2 separate regions of the Homo sapiens genome follow, and region 2 is linked to region 1. The links are contacts of gene promoters, found by promoter capture Hi-C in blood cells and fetal thymus (Javierre and others, 2016). All regions are on one chromosome and are shown on one strand. The core of a region is centred on a gene start or on the middle of the fragment in contact, and the rest is flanking DNA. Distances in the headings are between cores, read along the strand shown. Region 1 holds the start of ZNF134 (zinc finger protein 134). Region 2 overlaps ZNF226 (zinc finger protein 226).

The links. Contacts are between HindIII fragments. The CHiCAGO score rates a contact against its expected background, and 5 or more counts as called.
Region 2: a fragment that was not itself captured here is called in contact with the fragment with the promoter of ZNF134 in region 1 in 1 of 17 cell types (total CD4 T cells); the score reaches 6.1 in total CD4 T cells.

What each region holds. Positions count from the first base shown.
Region 1 is chr19:57,612,596-57,615,801 of GRCh38, forward strand. ZNF134 (zinc finger protein 134) reads left to right here and starts at 1,647. Exons shown (of 3, transcript NM_003435.5): 1 at 1,647-1,908. It also overlaps a transcript of ZNF530 not described here. RefSeq lists an enhancer at 1,542-1,721 and a silencer at 1,852-1,901. The HindIII fragment of the contact is 2,580 bases long and covers 1,224-3,206 here.
Region 2 is chr19:44,174,223-44,177,357 of GRCh38, forward strand. It overlaps ZNF226 (zinc finger protein 226), which reads left to right. Exons shown (of 6, transcript NM_001032373.2): 6 at 1,276-3,135. Among named protein-coding and RNA genes, the nearest start is that of ZNF226, 11 kb to the left of the region's middle. The HindIII fragment of the contact is 8,400 bases long and covers 1-3,135 here.

The DNA of each region.
Region 1 (3,206 bases), core at 397-2,896:
CCTTGAGCCCAAGAGTTTGAGGCTGCAGCAAGCTATGATCGTGCCACTACACTCCAGCCTGTGCAACACAGTGAGATCCTGTCTCCAAAATTAAATAAATAAATAAAATTACATTTTGGAGACTAAACGCTGCTTGTAGTCATAGTTCTAACACAGCTGTGTGCTCAGCTTCATTTGCTCACTTCTCAGAATTCAATGTCTCCTGCTCAAATTTTGCTGTCATCTTAACCGTTTTCACTTATCACAGATATGTTTCTCCAGGTCCATTTCGTCATGTATCTGTGAATAACTACAGAATTATTAACTTTGAGTAATTTGGCCGGGCGCGGGGGCTCTCCTGTAATCCCAGCACTTTGGGAGGCTGAGGCGGGCAGATCACGAGGTCAGGAGATCGAGACCATCCTGGCTAACACGGTGAAACCCCATCTCTACTAAAAATACAAAAAGTTAGCCGGGCATGGTGGCAGGCGCCTGTAATCCCAGCTACTCCGGAGGCTGAGGCAGGAGAATAGTGTGAACCTGGGAGGCGGAGCCTGCAGTGAGCTATGGTCGCACCACTGCACTCCAGCCTGGGCGACTGAGCAAGACTCCGTCTCAAAAAAAAAAAACACAAAACAACTTTTGAGTAATTTAAACAATTCACAAATGTTTTTGTCTTTCTTTCCCCATACACTCGCCCTTTTCTTTTTTAAAACCATAAATAAATCTCAATTCTCAATTCAGACACTGTCGGTGTAATTGCAGGTGAAATGAGAATCACCTCCCAGCCAAGAAATCTGATCCCAATTTTCCAAATCTTTATTTCTGGGTTCAGACACCACATTTTCAGCCCCTGTCTTGGCATATAAAAGCATTTATAATGGTTCTTCTTTTCAGATAAGAAACATCACCAAAAGGAAATAGATATATCTCAACTTTTGGGCTAGGAACTCTCATTTGGATAAAAGAATATTTCTCCTTTGGTTGGACATTAGTGACCATACAGGCAGGAAAGGTGCCTTCCTTGACCACCTTCTCTCGCCTGTCTTCCTCCTCATGGTTCTCTCAGGTATTTTTTTTCTGAGGAAACCAGAGGAAGAGCTCTATATTAGTCCACTTGCCTCAGGGAGCTCCAGCATCCCTCCATAGCCACTGTCTGGAGACCATTCTTCCACTCCATGGCCCTGCCTGGGGACAATTCTCTGTTAACTCTGACCCAACTGAGGCTCACAAAACTGACTCAAAGCTTCCCTCTACAGTACACATATTTTTTAAATGAAGGAAATTTGACTGAACTATGAGTGGACTCAGAGTGACATTGGATGTTGTGTGTCCATTTGGTGGTGTGGCTTCAGGGAACATCTGTAAGAATATATCCCAATATTTCGGGGATCCCTGCAGACCTCACTACACAAGACCTGGTTGAGGGTCCTTTAAAAGGAGCGAAGCCACGCCCTGACCTCAGAGTCTCAGGGCATAATTTCTCAGCGCCCCTCGCAGTACCATTTGGCCTTTGCCCAGCGTGCAGGGGAGTTAGCCGTCACCACGGCCAAGTGCACATGAGAACTGCATTGCCCAGAAACCTGTGCGCCGCCCGGCGGCGGCACTCTTAGGGGCGTCTCCCTGCGGACGGAAGCTCTCTGGGCGGGACTTCCGGTATCTTCCTCGCGGTGGACATCTTGTCGGCTCTTAGGTGGAACCATCGGAGCAGAAGCTCGGGGTTGCTGGGCGGTTCCGAGGTGACGGAAGCGGGAGGGTGCGGGAGAAGTCGCTGTTCGCTCTGCGGAGTGGCTCGCCAGCGAAGACCCCGCCTGCGCCCCCGGGGACGGACGACCGCGGTGCCAGGGTCCCGCGACCTGGGACCCCCTCGCGGCTCCGGGTGGTCTACGAACTGTGATGGCGGCGGCCGCGGTGATGGGCCCGGCGCAGGTGGGTGCTGCCTTTCCCAGACTTTCGCCCGCCCCAAATCCTGAAGTTCCAAATGAGGAGCGCCTGTCTGAGTCCCTGCAGCGCAGGCCCCAGTGTCCAAGGCAGCGGGGCGCTGGTGGGTGGGGGCGAGTGTGACTGGCAGAGGGGCAGCCTGAGCATAGGTTTGGAGCTGGACTGAGCCCGTAGCAGTCGGGAGCGTGTGTGAACCGTAGTCAGGCCTGCAATGTCGAGGGGAGAAGTTGCTCCTTCATTGCGAGGACGATAGGAGCCATGGCGGGTTTTGAATGGTGGAGGGAAGGGATCCGAAAAAGGATTTTTAAAGTATTCCAATGTTTGCTGAGGAGGAAACCGACTACAGTGAGGTAGAAACGATGAGGATGGAGGCAAGGAGACGTTTGAGGAGGTCCCTGCAACAAACTCCAGAAGTGTTGCGGTGGTGGCTGGGCCAGAGCAGTGGCAGGAGGGGTTGGGTGGGGAAGTCATGAGATTCTGGGTAGATTTTTAAAGATGGAACCAATGGGGTTTCCTGCCGCATCAGATGTGGTCGTGAGTGAATGTAGGGAGGAAAGGGCTATCCAGGGTTTTTTTGGCCTGTTTTCCTTCCTGAACGTGTGAAAGAATGGAAATTGGTAAGTCACAGCAGGGAGCACGTTTCAGGGGCATCAGGAATTGGGTTTTGGACTTGGTGAATCTAAGGTGTTCTGCACTGGAGGTTCATCACGGGTAGCTGAACATGCAGGTCTGGGGTTCTAGAGAGGGAGTTGTGCTAGAGACTTCAATGGGTGAGGCATAAGGTCAAAGCCTGTAGTAGATCAGATTTAGAGGGTGGAATTTCAAGGAAGTTATTTTGTGTGGTCTCTGAAGTGAGAGGTGGGTTTAGGGTGGAAGGCCAGGGATGAAGGGGTGGACACTTAAGATTCCTTCCAGAAAGGAGGGGTCCTGGCATGTGAAAGCATTCTAGATGGTGTTGTTGGAAGTCAATGCTTGGTGCTGCAAAGTGAAACCAGCACTCAGGCAAAAGTTTTCTCAGCAAGGCAATTTACTTCTGTGCAAGTGTGCTGCCTGTGTTAATCACGATCCCAAGAGCACACTGAACAAAGGAGGGAAGGGGTTTTTATCTCTAACCCATAGTCCCTACCTTCCTCTGTGTCACTCCCCCATGGGCTGGGGTCGGACCGCTTAATCTAAGCTGAGCCAATTGGGTATTTGTGAGTATTTTCCAAATAAGGAAGAGGGAAGGGGAAGGTGAGTTACAGTGGTGGGACATGTGAGTTGTGTAGGACGTGTGGTTTTGGCGG
Region 2 (3,135 bases), core at 636-3,135, about 13 Mb before region 1:
TCATAGTTGTAACCAAACTGAATAACATGCTTTGTTTATGACTTTCTTTGAGCATTTGTAGCAGAGCATATTCATTCGGGGAGGGAATATTTTACAATAAGGACTTTTATTTCTATTTCTTAGGTATTCCCCCATAGAAGGGAATAAAATTCGATTTCCTTATCCATTATATCAGGAAAGAAAAAGTAAAACTAAAAACCAGGACATGAGCATTAGCCTTTCCCTCAAAATGTTTGCACAGTTGCATCCCATTTGCTTCTTCCAAAGTCCACATTCATAAAAAGAAATGGATCTTACATTGTTGCCTCTCAAACATTTATATCGTGTAGGCTTATATGTATGTCTTTAGAAGGCCTTTTATGTAATGACACCATTACTGCTTGTGATTATTCTGATATGATACTTTATCTGTTTTTTTTTCCTAAATATCACAAGCTATTAAATTTATTTCACAATTGACTAGTAGACCACTTTGTCAATTTGGAAAACATTCTTGTTAAAGACAAACATATCTACATCCAGAAACTTTCTATACCTTGCTTTCAAAGAGACAGCATTCTTTGCTAGCCTTCCAATTTTGACTCAGTGCAAAAGCCTTAGAAGGATCCAGTGCATAGGTCTTCATGCTTTCCTTTCACCCCAAGTGATTATCAACTTTGATTTTTCTCTTCAGCAATAACTCACTTGGTGTACCCCTACCTCAGGTACAGCTTTTCAACTTTGCAGCAAAACTGTACTTTCTAGTTCTTTTTGTATTTCAGATACCTTACTTGTAAAAGCTCTTTTGCTCTATGACCTGGCTCAAACTTAAACTTGGATTTGAAGTTAGAAGAAATGTTGGAAGTCATTTATATATGAAGAAATGTTGGAAGGACTCATATATGCATACATTCCTTGAGTGACTATGAATGACTGCCGGGCAGTAACTTCTGGGCTGTGGTTGTAAACTGTGAGCACTACAAAATGTTTTTCCTTATTGATACCATATTATGGTAGGAAAGACATGGAATAAAAAATTTAGATAGTATGTCAGTAGTTGTGTTTTTAAATGGGTTTCATTAGTGCTTAGCAATTGGGAGCTTGGTGGACCATCTCTTGGTTTTGGACCATCTCTTGGTTTCTGTCAGTATGTAAACCAGAAACTTCAAATGTGTCACAAAAGATGAGCAGAACTATCCCGAGGTTCATTAAAGTCTTTTACTCTGTCCTCAGTGTGAAATCTTAAATCTTTGAACAAAAAAATTCACTATCTCTCTGAATCCTTTGTCCTTACAGGAGAGAAAAATCAAAGTAAGTTAATTACTGTTCAAGACAGAGAATCAGAAGAAGAGCTTTCTTGTTGGCAAATCTGGCAACAAATTGCAAATGACTTAACCAGGTGTCAAGACTCCATGATCAATAATTCTCAGTGTCACAAACAAGGTGATTTCCCTTACCAGGTAGGGACAGAACTGTCTATTCAAATTTCTGAAGATGAGAACTATATAGTAAATAAAGCAGATGGTCCCAATAATACTGGGAATCCAGAGTTTCCTATCTTGAGAACCCAGGATTCTTGGAGGAAAACATTCCTGACTGAGTCACAGAGATTGAACAGAGATCAGCAAATTTCCATAAAAAATAAATTATGTCAATGTAAGAAGGGTGTTGATCCCATCGGTTGGATTTCACATCATGATGGTCATAGAGTACACAAAAGTGAAAAATCTTATAGACCCAATGATTATGAAAAAGACAACATGAAGATTTTGACATTTGATCACAATAGCATGATTCACACAGGACAGAAATCGTACCAGTGTAATGAGTGTAAAAAACCCTTCAGTGATCTCTCCAGCTTTGATCTTCATCAGCAGTTACAATCAGGAGAGAAGTCTCTTACATGTGTTGAGCGTGGAAAAGGCTTCTGTTACAGCCCAGTTCTTCCTGTTCATCAGAAAGTACATGTGGGAGAAAAACTTAAGTGTGATGAGTGTGGTAAGGAATTCAGTCAGGGCGCTCATCTACAGACCCATCAGAAAGTCCACGTGATAGAGAAACCATACAAATGTAAGCAATGTGGGAAAGGTTTCAGTCGTAGATCAGCACTTAATGTTCATTGCAAGGTCCACACGGCAGAGAAACCTTATAATTGTGAGGAGTGTGGGAGGGCCTTCAGTCAGGCCTCTCATCTTCAGGACCATCAGAGACTCCACACTGGGGAGAAGCCATTCAAATGTGATGCATGTGGTAAGAGCTTCAGTCGGAATTCACATCTTCAATCCCATCAAAGAGTTCATACAGGAGAGAAACCATACAAATGTGAGGAGTGTGGTAAGGGCTTCATTTGTAGCTCAAATCTTTACATTCATCAGAGAGTCCACACAGGAGAAAAACCCTATAAATGTGAGGAATGTGGTAAAGGCTTTAGTCGGCCTTCAAGTCTTCAGGCCCATCAGGGAGTTCACACTGGAGAGAAGTCATACATATGTACTGTATGTGGGAAAGGCTTTACTCTGAGTTCAAATCTTCAAGCCCATCAGAGAGTCCACACTGGAGAGAAGCCATACAAATGCAATGAGTGTGGGAAGAGCTTCAGGAGGAATTCCCATTATCAAGTTCATCTAGTGGTCCACACAGGAGAGAAACCCTATAAATGTGAGATATGTGGGAAGGGCTTCAGTCAAAGTTCGTATCTTCAAATCCATCAGAAGGCCCACAGTATAGAGAAACCTTTTAAGTGTGAGGAGTGTGGGCAGGGTTTCAATCAGAGCTCACGACTTCAGATTCACCAGCTGATCCATACGGGTGAGAAACCATACAAATGTGAAGAGTGTGGCAAGGGATTTAGTCGTAGAGCAGATCTTAAAATTCACTGTAGGATCCACACAGGAGAGAAACCATATAATTGTGAGGAGTGTGGGAAGGTCTTCAGGCAGGCCTCAAATCTTTTGGCCCATCAGAGAGTCCACAGTGGAGAAAAACCATTCAAATGTGAAGAATGTGGGAAGAGTTTCGGTCGGAGTGCACATCTTCAAGCCCATCAAAAAGTCCACACTGGAGATAAGCCATACAAATGTGATGAGTGTGGGAAGGGCTTCAAGTGGAGCTTGAACCTTGACATGCATCAGAGGGTGCACACAGGAGAAAAACCAT